4 separate regions of the Homo sapiens genome follow, and regions 1, 2 and 3 are each linked to region 4. The links are contacts of gene promoters, found by promoter capture Hi-C in blood cells and fetal thymus (Javierre and others, 2016). All regions are on one chromosome and are shown on one strand. Each heading gives the region's core, a stretch centred on a gene start or on the middle of the fragment in contact. The rest is flanking DNA. Distances are from core to core; before and after follow the strand shown.

The links. The method cuts DNA at HindIII sites, captures the fragments that hold promoters and counts their contacts. A CHiCAGO score of 5 or more calls a contact.
Region 1: a contact is called between the fragment with the promoter of NEMF here and the fragment with the promoter of NIN in region 4, in 3 of 17 cell types (naive CD8 T cells, non-activated CD4 T cells and fetal thymus). The highest score is 7.7, in naive CD8 T cells.
Region 2: a fragment that was not itself captured here is called in contact with the fragment with the promoter of NIN in region 4 in 1 of 17 cell types (naive CD4 T cells); the score reaches 5.0 in naive CD4 T cells.
Region 3: a contact is called between the fragment with the promoter of ARF6 here and the fragment with the promoter of NIN in region 4, in 9 of 17 cell types (total CD4 T cells, fetal thymus, non-activated CD4 T cells and 6 more). The highest score is 13.0, in total CD4 T cells.

What each region holds. Positions count from the first base shown.
Region 1 is chr14:49,851,218-49,854,380 of GRCh38, reverse strand. NEMF (nuclear export mediator factor) reads left to right here and starts at 1,593. Exons shown (of 33, transcript NM_004713.6): 1 at 1,593-1,686; 2 at 2,506-2,574; 3 at 2,716-2,818. The coding sequence starts at 1,628. It also overlaps RN7SL3. RefSeq lists a silencer at 484-543 and an enhancer at 1,347-1,586. The HindIII fragment of the contact is 4,280 bases long and covers 1-2,432 here.
Region 2 is chr14:50,307,307-50,310,593 of GRCh38, reverse strand. All of the region lies in intron 1 of L2HGDH (L-2-hydroxyglutarate dehydrogenase), which reads left to right. Among named protein-coding and RNA genes, the nearest start is that of L2HGDH, 3.3 kb to the left of the region's middle. The HindIII fragment of the contact is 3,207 bases long and covers 1-3,024 here.
Region 3 is chr14:49,891,674-49,895,243 of GRCh38, reverse strand. ARF6 (ARF GTPase 6) reads right to left here and starts at 2,162. Exons shown (of 2, transcript NM_001663.4): 1 at 2,087-2,162; 2 at 1-1,988. The coding sequence starts at 1,507. The coding sequence ends at 980. RefSeq lists enhancers at 1,233-1,282, 1,313-1,632, 2,503-2,602 and silencers at 1,793-1,982, 2,023-2,412. The HindIII fragment of the contact is 6,329 bases long and covers 1-3,570 here.
Region 4 is chr14:50,829,492-50,832,719 of GRCh38, reverse strand. It overlaps NIN (ninein), which reads left to right and starts at 1,558. Exons shown (of 31, transcript NM_020921.4): 1 at 1,558-1,714; 2 at 2,203-2,256. RefSeq lists silencers at 1,217-1,666, 1,717-1,996, 2,067-2,116, 2,137-2,256 and an enhancer at 2,827-2,876. The HindIII fragment of the contact is 8,436 bases long and covers 1-2,819 here.

The DNA.
Region 1 (3,163 bases), core at 344-2,843, 980 kb after region 4:
TATATTTGCACTCATTATCCGTTCATCCATTGATGAAAAGTAGATTATCCCTATATCTTGGCTATTGTGAATAATGCTGCAATGAACATGAACATATATCTTCAGGATAGTGATGTTGTTGCTAGATCACATGGTAATTCTATTCTTAATTTTGTGAGGAGCCTTTATACTGTTTTGCACAATGGCTCTACTAATTTACATTCCCATCAACAGCATACAAAAGTTCCCTGTTCTCCACCTTCTCCCCAATGCTTTCATATTTTGGGCCATTCTGTATGGTTTACTGTACCGTATGACAGTAATGCTGTGCAGTATGTGCTATAGCCATTTTTGCATCTACTGGTACCAGTTCTGAAATAGCAGCGGCGCCCTTTCTGTTTAGAGTCGCCTTCTGGTGGTAGGAATTCTGGTTGCTACCATGTGTAGCCTGCAAGCCTCTAGCAGCTCTTTTGCAGCGACGCCGAGCGCCGGGCGCGGTGGCGCGTGCCTGTAGTCCCAGCTACTCGGGAGGCTGAGGCTGGAGGATCCCTTGAGTTCAGGAGTTCTGGGCTGTAGTGCGCTATGCCGATCGGGTGTCCGCACTGAGTTCGGCATCAATATGGTGACCTCCCGGGAGCGGGGGACCACCAGGTTGCCTAAGGAGGGGTGAACCGGCCCAGGTCGGAAACGGAGCAGGTCAAAACTCCCGTGCTGATCAGTAGTGGGATTGCGCCTGTGAATAGCCACTGCACTCCAGCCTGGGCAACATAGTGAGACCCTGCCTCTTTTGAGTTCTCACCTTATAAAGTAGCCTTTCTTCCCATGCATCTATCCTAAGACAAAAGAAATGCAGAATTTACATTCTTACAGGACTATTTTCCTCACTACACTGTGAATCCCCCCTCCCACCCCACCCCCATTGGGAATCTTCTTGTTTTTATTTTTATCTTATTTCACCATTATCTAGCTAAACACTTGCACATTCATGCTGCCAAGTGTTTATGGAGCACCGATTGTACACCAGGTACTGCGGTGAGTCTCAGGGGTACCAAGACCGAGGTTCGATGAGAATCCTGTAATCAATTGCAGAATGCTCCTTCCGAGAGCAGGACCCATCAAAATAGGAACTCCGTTTTGAGAGTTCGCCTCGATCGTTGAGGATAATCTTAGAAGGACCGAAGCAGTTCCGTTTCGTTACATTTCAAAATCTTATGTCAAAGTAAGCGCGCAGAAAGGGGTCCTTGCTCTTCTACACTGAGCCCTACGGCCCCCCTGTGGGGAAATACTCCTGATAATCATCTCGAAAATTGTTTCGACCAGCAGGGGTCACTATGAAGGCTGACTTGAGCCCAAGACACAATGGGGCACGGTAACCAGACTGGTCCGTAAGGGTTCCAGGAAGGAATGCAGTTTCAAGAGAACAGTTTGAATCTTTATTCGAATTTGAATTTTGGTACAATGAAGAGAGTCAGCTGCAACTTGACAATCGAAATCTTCAGAAAAGCGACACAAATACGTTCGCCTCGAGGAATATTGGGTCTTCTGCGCGGCCGTAGAGCTCCGCCAAGTGCGCCTGCGCGGAGGAGAAGTGGCGTCGAGTCCGGCCGGGCAGTAGAGGAACTTGCGGTAGTGACCCTCGGGCCTCGCCATGAAGAGCCGCTTTAGCACCATTGACCTCCGCGCCGTACTCGCGGAGCTGAATGCTAGGTACAGTACCCTAAGTGACGAGGCTCGTGTGGGGAGTGCAGGAGGCAGAGGCCGGAGTCCCATGGCGCAAACAGACCAGCTTGATATGTTTCCTTATTTCCTAGTGCGTCTATGGACCTGCCTAGGCCTGAGTGGGCAGGCGTGTGGTGTCTTTCCCGTGACCCTTAGGATACCCCTGGGGGTCCCAGGCACCTCGTGCCCCATCCCCCGCGTCCTCCCAGCTCTCTGGCTTGCCCCGCTAGCGCGAAGCTCTTGCATTGTTGGCCTGGGTTGTCCGGGTTGGGCAGGAAACGTTTGTTAAAACACGAGACGCCAGAGTGGTCGTTTGCTTCAGAGGTTTCCAGACTGGGGGCTTGGTTTCTTGAACACCTCCCTCCCCTCACCCCAGAGAGAGAGAGAGCATCGCGGTTTTAGCTGGATTGAGCAGATTTGGACTGAGATCTGGATTCTAGTCTGGATTCTATTATTCAGCCCTGTGAGCTTTGTCATATTTTCGGGGCCCTCTTTTATCTTTTTTTTTTCTCCCTTGTAATAAATTAATTGGATTATATTTTACTGTATTTCTCCCCCAAAATTGGGTCATTTGGAAGACGCAAGCTATAGTGTGTTGTTCCTAGAGCTGATAGACCACTTCTGTTTTTAAATCGTTACTCTTAAGTTTTGAACTGAATCTCCAAATGGCTTTCAGACTCTGCTCCTCGGCTGACTCCATATCCTTAGAGACTGAGATCCGCTCTTTCGAAGCTTTTATTAAATTATGTGTAGTTTTATGTTTCAGACAATAGTGTAACATGTTACATGTTTCCTTTATCTTTGCAGCTTGCTAGGAATGAGAGTAAACAATGTTTATGATGTGGATAATAAGACATACCTTATTCGTCTTCAAAAGTAAGAACATTTTATAGGCTTATTTTCTCTTTGACAATTAAGTATGAGATTACTGATTTTTTTTAACCTACATTTTAAGCCTGTTTAGCAATTAGCTTTGGCATATACCCTAAAGAAAAATTCGACTTTTTTCTTCTACAGACCGGACTTTAAAGCTACACTTTTACTTGAATCTGGCATACGAATTCATACAACAGAATTTGAGTGGCCTAAGAATATGATGCCGTCTAGTTTTGCCATGAAGGTAAACTTGTTACGCTTGAAGCTAAATTTTAAGAGATTGCTCACTAACAATTAAGTTTTTAATTGGGGTTTCCTTCACTGTTACGAATAAAGTGCAGATAAAATGAAGGTAAAGGGAGTGGTTGACAGATAATGGGTTGAATAAAGTGAATATTTATTAATTGATTTCTCCCCATTACCTTTCACATCCTGTTCTGCTCCAGATCTTCTGTTTCCACAGTCACTATTAGAGTTCAAGCTTTTATCACATTCAGCCTTACAGTTCCTTAACTGTAATTCACTTCTCTGCATCAAAACAATTCTAAATTAGACCAACGTTAATTTTTTTGTTTTTGTTTGTTTGTTT
Region 2 (3,287 bases), core at 172-2,671, 520 kb after region 4:
CCCAATGCTTCCTGTCCTCCAGGAGCTGGGACCACAGGCAGCTAATTATTTTCCTATTTTTTTGTAGAGACGTTGCCCAGGGTGGTCTCGAACCCCTGGCCTCAAGTGAACCTCCCTCTTCAGCCACCCAAAGTGCTGAGATTACAGGTGTGAGCCACCGTGCCTGGCCTATACTTTTATTTTGAAGTAATTATAGATCCATTGGAAATTGCAAAAATAGTACAGGCCAAGCGTGGTGACTCAGGCCTGTAATCCCAGTGCTTTGGGAGGCTGAGGCAGGAGGATCACTTGAGCCCAGAAGTTTGAGACCAGCCTGGGCAAAATATAAGATCCCTTCTCTACAAAATAAAAAATAAAAATAAATAAACAGTACAAAGAGATCCCATGTACCCTTCACCCCATTTACCCCAATGAAAACATCTTATATAACTATAGTACAATATCAAAACTAGGAAATTGATATTGGCAAAATCCACGGACATTGTTCAGCTTTCATCAGTTTTACATATATTCGTGTGTGTGTGTGTGTTTAGTTCTATGCAGTTTAATCATATGTATTAATTTGTGTAACTACCACCTCAATTAAGATATGAAAATGTGGCCAGGCATGCTGGCTCATGCCTATAATCTCAGCACTTTGGGAGGCCGAGGTGGGAGGATAGGTTGAGCCTCAGAGTTGGAGACCAGCCTGGGCAACAAAGGGAGACGGCAAAACCCCTGCTCTACAAAAAAATTAAAAAATAATTAGCCAGGTGTGGTGGCTTGCTCCTGTAGTCCCAGCCACTTGTGGGGCTGAGGCAGGAGGATCGCTTGAGCCCAGGAGGTTGAAGGTGTGGTGACCTGTGATTACACCGCCGCGCTGAAGCCTGGACAACAGAGCAAGACTCTCTTAAAAAAAAAAAAAAGGGTGGTATAAAAATATTCTATTGCCACAAGGTTATCTGTTGTGTTACCTATCTCTTTATATTCACACCTTCCTCTCCATTCTTCCTAACTCTTGGCAACTGTGAATCTAAATTTTTTTTTTTTTTTAACACGAAGTCTCGCTTTGTCACCCAGGCTGGAGTACAGTGGCATGATCTTGGCTCACTGCAACCTCTGTCTCCTAGGTTGAAGGGATTCTCCTGCCTCAGCCTCCTGAGTAGCTGGGATTACAGGCATGTGCCACCACGCCCAGCTGATTTTGTATTTTGAGTAGAGATAGGGTTTCACCGTGTTGGCCAGGCTGGTCTCAAACTCCTGACCTCAGGTGATCCACCCGCCTCAGCCTCCCAAAGTATTGGGATTACAGGCATGAGCCACTGCACCCGGCCTGAAATTTTTTATATCACCAAATATTCAGTATAAAACTTTTAGAAAAAGGACAAGATCTTTGGACATAGAGATGACATCAAAAGCATGATCTCTAAAAGAAAAAAATTGACAAAATGGACTTCATCAAAATGAAAAACTTTTGCTCTGCAAAAGACTGTTAAGAGAATGAAAAAACTACCAAGACGTGGGAAAAAAATACCAGCAACTGCATATCTCCCAAAGGACTAATACACAAAATACATAAAGAACTCTCAAAACAAGCCTTTGGAGATTGGCTTTTTTTCACACAGCATACTATCCTTAAGATCCATGCAAGGCGTCGCCTGTATTGATAGCAGGTTTTTCAAAATTGTTGAATAGAATTCCATGGTATGGATACATCACAATTTGTTTAACCGTTTACCATGGGTTGAAGAACATCCAAGCTGCTTCCAGTTTTTGGCTATTACGAATAAAGCTACTATGAACATTCATGTTCAGGTTTTTGTATGAACATAAGTTTCATTTCTCTGGAATAAATGCCCAAGACTGCAGTTACTGAGTCATGTAGTAAGTCCATGTTTAGTTTCTTTTTAAGAAACTGCCATACTCTTTTCCAGAGTGGCTGTACTATTTTACATTCCCACCAGCTATGTGTGAGTAATCCAGTTTCCCTTCATTCTCACCAGCATTTGGGGTGATCACTTTTTAAATTTTAGCCATTCTGATAGAGACGTAGTGATATCTCATTGTGGTTTTTATTTACATTTCTCTGATGCAATGATGTTTGAACAATGCATTGACTAATGGTGTTGAACATCTTTTCATGTGCTTCTTTGCCATCTGTGTATCTGTCCTCTTTGATGAAATATTTGTTCATATCTTTTGCCCACTTTTTTTTTTTTTTTTTTTCTGAGATGGAGTTTCGCCTTGTTGCCCAGGCTGGAGCGCAGTGGCGCGGTCTCGGCTCACCGCAGAGGCCTCCTGGGTTCAAGCAATTCTCCTGCCTCAGCCTCCCGAGTAGCTGGGATTACAGGCATGCGCCACCATGCCCAGCCAATTTTGTCTTTTTAGTAGAGATGGGGTTTCTCCATGTTGGCATGGCTGGTCTCAAACTCCTGACGTCAGGTGATCCGCCCGCCTTGGCCTCCCAAAGTGCTGGGATTAAAGGCGTGAGCCATCGCACCCGGCCTGCCTACGTTCTAAATGGCTTGTTTTGAGAGTTCTTTTATGTATGAGTCCTTTGGGAGATATGCAGTTACTAGTATTTTTTTCCAATTTCTTAGTTTTTTTATCCTCTTAACAGAGTCTTTTTGCAGAGCAAAAGTTTTATGTTTTGATGAAGTCCATTTTATCAGTTTTTTTTCTTTTATGGATCATGTTTTTGATGTCAACTCTAAGTCCCAAGATTTTGTCCTATTTTTTCCTAAAAGTTTTAAAGTGAATATTAGGTGATGTAAAAAATTTTGTGTTAGTTTTTTTAACTATAATGGTAGTGTGTGTTTTTAGAGATGCCTTTTAGAAATAACATTGAAATATTTACAGATGAAATAATGTGGTGTTTAAGATTTGCATCAAAATAATATAATACAGGAGGGGATGAAATAGAGTATAGAAGAAGCAAGATTTGCTGTGAGTTGATAATTAGTGAAGCTGGGTGATGTATATGTGGGGCTTCATTGAACTATTTTGTCTAACTTTGTGTAGGTATGAACTTTTCCATAAAAAGCTTAAGAAAATTATCTGTTAAACCATTCATTGGTGTTAACTTGAGATTAAGTGAGTTGTAGAGAAAGATGTCTCTTTCAGCCTCCGTGGTTAGCTTGGCCTGCAACTGTCCTCCAGCATTCATCTATGACTATTGTTCTGTTCACCTGTCTCCATAGTGGATGCTTGGAGATTTGTGCTTTTGTTTGTGAAACATATTTCAATGATTTTGTGTCACTGGATAAAACAGTGATTCTTCAGATTTGAGAAGAGGGAGTGAAGGGTGG
Region 3 (3,570 bases), core at 913-3,412, 940 kb after region 4:
TCCAGTTTTGCCCAAAAGTCACTTAAAATATCTACAAATTATTTAATCTGTGTGTGGTAACACCATTATTGCTCCAATTTCTGGAAAGAGTCTATTTTCAAAGTTTAAAAAAGAGGAAAAACAGCAAAGTGGCTAACTTTGCAGTGGAAAGAAAAAGTGTCCTTCATGGGTTACACTTTCATATTTTTATGCAGCATTAAGTTATCTACGTTATGGGGAACTTGGGTTTTATTCCTACTCATGCATGATGTGTTTCAGAACTTACTTGCTGACATTTCAGAGAACTTCTTACATTACCTGTTTAACATACTGAGGTGCAACTGGAACATATTACAATATTACTCATTATTTGCCACTGTGGGCTAAGTTTACTATACTGGTCTTAGATATAAAAGGTCACATTTGAAATTACTAAGTTAGAACTCATAAGGAAGGGGGGGGAAGGCCTTAAATATAAAAGACAAACGGCAGTTTGATTAAGCAATAATTTTCAGTTTACTAGATGAAACAGACTTGCAACATAGTCTGCATGAATGCAAAATAAGCCATCTACAGCAAGTGATAAGGAAACTGGGCAAAAAAGGAAAAAAGCATACATAGGAAAATGAAAGATTCTCTCGAAATAAAAAAATCAAACTATTATTACAAAGGACTTTACCAAGAACTGCTGTGTTTCCCCCATCCCATCTGCTGGAAGTCAACAAGAGCATCTAGCAACTTTGTGTTCATGTCAAATGTCAGATCAGAGCATCCTAACGCAAAGCCAACAAAAAAAAAAAAAAAAAAAAAAGGAAAAAGAAAGGGAAACAAACAAAAGAGAAAACCCCCAAGCCCCGTCCCCGCCAAACTGTAGAACAGTAACTCCAGAGTTCAAATTCAAAAGAAGAGAAAGTGGCAATTGAAAGAGGTGATGGTGGCGATAATCCTATGAATGGGTTTTTGATTTCTCTCCTTCCAGGGGATGGGTGGAGAATGCTCATTAAGATTTGTAGTTAGAGGTTAACCATGTGAGCCCCTCATAGAGTCCGTCCCCTGAGGTGGCACAGGAGGGCTGCACATACCAGTTCCTGTCCCGAATCCGGGTCAGGCCCAGTTTCTCCTGGATCTCGTGGGGTTTCATGGCATCGGGCAGGTCCTGCTTGTTGGCGAAGATGAGGATTATGGCGTCCCTCATCTCCCGGTCATTGATAATGCGGTGCAGCTCCTGGCGAGCCTCATCGATGCGGTCGCGGTCGGCGCAGTCCACTACGAAGATGAGACCTTGGGTCCCAGTGTAGTAATGCCGCCAGAGCGGCCGGATCTTGTCCTGGCCGCCCACATCCCATACGTTGAACTTGACATTTTTGTAAGTCACCGTCTCCACGTTGAAACCCACAGTGGGAATGGTGGTCACCGACTGGCCCAGCTTCAACTTGTACAGGATTGTTGTCTTGCCGGCCGCGTCCAGGCCCAACATGAGGATCCGCATTTCCTTGTTCCCGAAGATTTTGGATAGCACCTTCCCCATCGCGTCGGAGGAGCCGGGGCCGGGGGCATTCAGGTGTCCCGGGTCCCCTCAGCCAACAACGCCGCCGCCGCCGCGAAACCGAAACGAAGCCTCTCGGCCGCGAGAGCGCCTTTGCGGCCTGCGTGGGAGTTGCCTCCTAAGGGCAGAGGCCCAGGCCCCCCGCTCACTCGGGCATCACCGACCGCACAACTTGATTTCTCCAGTCGCCGCCGCCACCCGGGCCCTGAGACTGCGCTGGGAGCCGCCGCCCTGCTGAGGCGCGGCCCGGCCCGGAACTGCCCTTCCCCCCGCAGGCGCCGCGCGAGCGCCGCCGCGGTTCCCGCTCCTCCGCCTTCCTCTCACCGCGAGGGAGACTGCAGCCCTCCGGCCCGCCCGCCGGCCTGCGAGCACTGGGCTCCCCACCGACCCAGGACACCCGAGAGGCAGCGCGGCTCCGGGGCCCCGTCAGGTCATGGATCCTCGCGGGAACTCGGTGCGCTGCCTGCAGAGAAACAGAGAGGGAGGGGAGTTACTGCCAGAGCTCCACAAAGGAGCGAAGACCGAGGTGGCCCGCCTTTCCAGCTCGGCCCAAGGGGTTACCTCCAGCCGCCGCCCCGAGCGCGGGCTCCCTCCGGCCTCCAACTCCTCCTCCCAGTTCTGCCGCCGCCGCTGCCGGAAAAGGCGCCGAGGAAACCGCCTCACTTCCCCTCCCGACCACGCAGGCGCAGCAGAGGCCGACCGTTCGGACAAGAGCGACCTCTGTAAGGAGAGCGGCCCGCGCGCCTAGCGTCATGGGCGCCACGCGCCGGAGGGGCGGGGCTACGGCGCCTCGGAGGGCTCGCAGATGCGGCCGGCCCAGAGCCCTCGAACCTCGGACTCTGACTCGCGCCTACCCGTGGCTCTTCTAGCGTCTCCTTCCCTGCTTTTCTCTTTTGCGCTCTGCCCTCCCCTGCCCACCCGAACCAAGGGAGCAGATCTACTGGGGGGCCCTACAGGGTGGGGCCCACGGGCAGCCCGCTCTCTCCACGAACCGAGCTGCCTCCAGGCCTGTTCCCAGACCTCGGTGCCCGCCAGATGCTCTGCGAATTCCCTCCGCCCGCCCCAGCCTTCCCGCACCCTCCGCGCTCCCTGAACGTCCCAGGGAAGCTCTGTTCGCTTTTGTTTTTTTTTTTTTTCCCTTTTTCGCAACCCCTTCTTGGCTTCCTTTATCCCTTGAATTTTGTATGTTTCCTGAAAGACACGTGGGAGGCCAGTGTCTCGTGTGGAATCTGCCAGTCAGTGCAGCGCTTTCCCGGAGTTGAGTTTACTCTGCAGCTCTTTTGAATGTTTGAGCCCTGTCTGCCTATAGGTCTCGTCAAGACCAGCCCATGTTTCTTAAAAACTGCAGTATTATGAAGAGTTCCTGTGCCTTGCCGCGTTTTCACCTTTTTAGAATGCGACATCTGTTCATCTTTAAAATATCATTTTATCTCATACTGTTAGTAGTAGCTTCTTAACTACTACCCATTCTTAACTTTAAGAAGCATAGAATTTAGAATATAGAACGACCGCTTGTATGGCCTGGATCTGGGCACTTAACCTTACTAAGTTTATCTCGTGTAAACTGACCTTGCTAACTCACGTGAGGCTTAAATAATACAATGTGGAAGACTTCAGGGCACATTTTTGGTTTTTTGGTTTTTGTTTGTTTCTTGAGACGGGGTCTCACTCTGTCGCCCAGGCTGGAGTCCAGTTGCACAATCTCGGCTCACTGCAGCCTCCTCATCCTGGGTTCAAGCAGTTCTGCCTTAGCCTCCGGAGCAGCTGGAATTAGGTCGCCCACCACCACGCCCGGCTAATTTTTGTATTTTTAGTAGAGACGGGGTTTCACCATGTTGGCCAGGCTGGTCTCGAAGTCCTGACCTCAGGTGATCCACCCGCCTCGGCCCCCCAAAATGCTGGGATTACAGGCGTGAGCCACTGCGCCCTGCCAAGGACACATTTTTGTATCAAATGGTTAATGATAAAATTAGACTTAAAATAACGTGAAACCTTCAAATATCAAGGGGAGAAAAACAGGAAATGGGTATCTTTGTTTAAAAAGC
Region 4 (3,228 bases), core at 309-2,808:
GTAACAGGTTAGCTATCCTCTTAATGAACTGCGTGTGTGTGTGTGTGTGTTGTATCATATTACTGGATGACTGAACAACCATGCATACAGTGTATGAGTGTGTGTTTGTGTGTGTATGTGTACTTATTCAAGACTGTTTAAAAAGGAGAGAGGAGCATAAATCTCTCTTATTCTGCAGGCACGCTTATATACCGTGTTGAAAGAAGAGAGCCTGGGCTTTTGAATAAGACTGAGATGTTTAAAATTTTTAAAAAAATTTTTTGAGGTAACTGTAAATTCGCTTGAAGTTGTAAGGAATAATAGAGAGATTCCCTATAGACGCTTCACTTAATTTTTCTCAATGGTAACATTTTGCATAACTGTAGAACAATATTACAATCAGTAAATGGACATTAGTGTAGTCCAAATGTCTTATTCAAATTTCATGAGTTTCACGTGCTCTCATTTGTGAGTGTATATTCAGTTCTATGCAATTTTGCCACATATGTGATCTGCTTTTGAATCTCAGTTCTGTGGAGTTCCTGCTGTGTGATCCTGAGGAAGCTCTTTGACTTCTGGGAGATCCATTTTCCTCATCTGCAAAATAATGTCTGCCTCCTAAGAGTGATGTGAGAATTAGATAAGATAATTTCTGTCGAGTTTCTAGCGCACTGGATTCTCAAGGAATGCTGGTTTCCTCTTGTCTGTTGCTTGCTTTCTCGGTAGAAAAGGAATCACCAGTTTCCTGCTAAAATAACCAGACTTGTGGGTTGTAATCCATCAGGCGGATCCTTCAAGGGCAACACATTTAACCCTGCAGCTCAAAAAGAACCATGGCCTGGACTTGGGATCCTATTTGACTGCAATGAGATCAGAAGTGTAGGGATGGGGGAGTGAGAACGCAGACTCTGGGGTAGTAGGTAGGAGGCGATTAATATCGAGCAACTGTTGGGCTGGGAACCACCAACTCCAAGGAGTTTTCGTCCTGTGTGGCTTGCGACCGAGGGTTAGCTTCACCCGGAGAAGGCTGCACAGGGGCGGGAGCCTGTGAGGACGTGGTGGGCAGGTGCGGAAGCCAGTGTAGACCCGGCAGGAGGGTCGCGCTCGCTCTACAGGGTTCCGAGTCACTTCTACAGCCCTTCTGCCTCCTGAACACCCTTTCCAATGTTGATGGCCAATCGACACCCGAGGGCTGGGAAATCACCCCCTTAAAGTCCCGCTTGCTGAAGGCGGGGGCCCTTCCTCTGCGCGAAGACGCTGCGGCCCGAGTGTCCGCGGTGCGGGTGAGTGTAGGCGTGTTGGGAAAGAAAGGGAGGCGGACAGGCAAGGGGCGAGGGTGGCAGCGCCAGCCCCAGCTCGGTGGCGACCTCGGGGCGCCAGCCTCCTACACCCGCACCCGGAGCCCCGGCGTTTCTAACTTCAGATCTCGGAGGCGGGCGCTCGGAGCGGGAGGGCGCGTCTGCGAGGGCTCAGGCGGCGCCGCCCGCTCCTCCCTCCGCTGCCTGAGCCGCGCGGGCCGCAGAGGAGGAGCCGCGCCGGGGCCGGCGTCGCCCTGACTCCTCCTCCCCGCGCGGGCCCGGCCCTTCCTCCCCGGCGTCCAGAGCTCCGGGTGGCCGCGGCCGAGCCGGGAGCCGAGCGCGCTGGGCGCGGCCGTCCCGCTGCCGCCGCCAAGCCCGGAGTGCGCCAGCGGCCATGGTTCCCGCGGCGGCGCCGGGCGCCTGAGCCCCGGGACGCAGTAAGTGGCGCAACCCCGGGGACCCGGACCCACGGCCTGGGGGTGCACGGAGGCCTCGCGCTGCCCCCGCGCCGTCGGCGAGGCCCTGAGAGCCCGGAGCGAACTGGGCACCGGATCACTCGGGGGCTTCCCATTTGGGGTCCGGGGCCAGCGGGGCGCAATCCCTGCGGGCCGGGAGGAAGCAGCGGCCGGGCGGGAGGACGAGGCGGGGACGGGGCTGCTTCGGAGGCGGGAGGAGGGGCCGGTCCCGGAGGCGCGGGCTGCGCGGGCGGGGGCGGGCCGGCGGGGGCGGGGAGGATGCGCGCTGCAGCCCGCGGCCCCCGAGAGCCGCGCTTTTGTAAGAGCTGGCCCCTTACATATGGAAATGACGCTCACGCGGGTCCCCATTCGCGTCCTTTTGAAGGACGCCCGCCCGGAACCGCTGCGCCGGCTGCGAAGTATTGTCCCGTTTCTCCAGCCCTAACAAAGCGTCCTCCTTCGCTTTGCAGAGCGCTGGAGGCGGGCTGCCGGCTGTGCGGGCGCTCCGGAGAGACCGACAGAAGGTAGGCGAGGGCGGCGGGGCCGGGGGAGCGCGCTGCCTGCCCACACAATGGGCTGTCTGAGGTTTCTGGTAGTGGCGATGGGCAGGCGAGTTGAGGACGCATCGCAGGTGGCCAGGGACTTGGGAGGCGCGCTTGTCCTGCGGCCGCACCTCCGCTTCCCCGCGCGGCAGCACCGCTGGGTTTGGGCACTTCCAGTACCCCCGACGCCCCGGCCGCCTGCCCGGAGCTGAAAGCCGCTTCTGTGCTTTGACCGAGAGCAGGCTTGAGTCCCCGAGGGAGCAGAAGGGGTGGTGGTTCCGTTGGCATGTGCCGCCCGTACAGCCTTGTGATTGAGACGCTGCAGAGGAAACTGCATGGGGAAATCCGAGGTGTTAGCCTGGGCTGTCTGAGTAGCGGAGAGCTGCTTGGAGCCCGGAAAGTGGAGATTTTTGGAGGTGTGCGGGGTCGATGCGCGTAAACAGTTTCCCAGTATAATGCCCAGGAGAAGGGGAAAGAACAAAATGACATTTGGTTATTGCCTAAAAGGTGTGGCATGGAGGTATGGAGTGTCGGGGAAGGAAGCTTCCAGCGGCTAGGCTTCTGTAGCTACCGAAGCGGCCCCTGACAGAAGGACACTAGGTGATGGGAACAGTCACTGCTTCCAGCTCTCGCTGCGAAGTTAAAAGAGATAGAGACGGAAAGAGGCAATTTCCCTAACCCCAGCCCTGACAACCCGAGGTGAAGGCACCAACAAAATGGGAGCTGGAAAGACTGCCCTACCATATATCATGTTTCCAGACAACTTGGATATTATGAGATCTGCTTTCTGCTCCTAACTAGGACAGATCCTCTCCTGGTGTTGAGGACTTCTAAGATGGGCTTGCCATACAGCTCAACTCCTGAATTTATTACATCGAAACAGATTGCGTAGTTGTCTTTTGTGACTGACATGGTAGCTTTGTAGGATGAGAATCCTGATAAAGTCCATCCTGA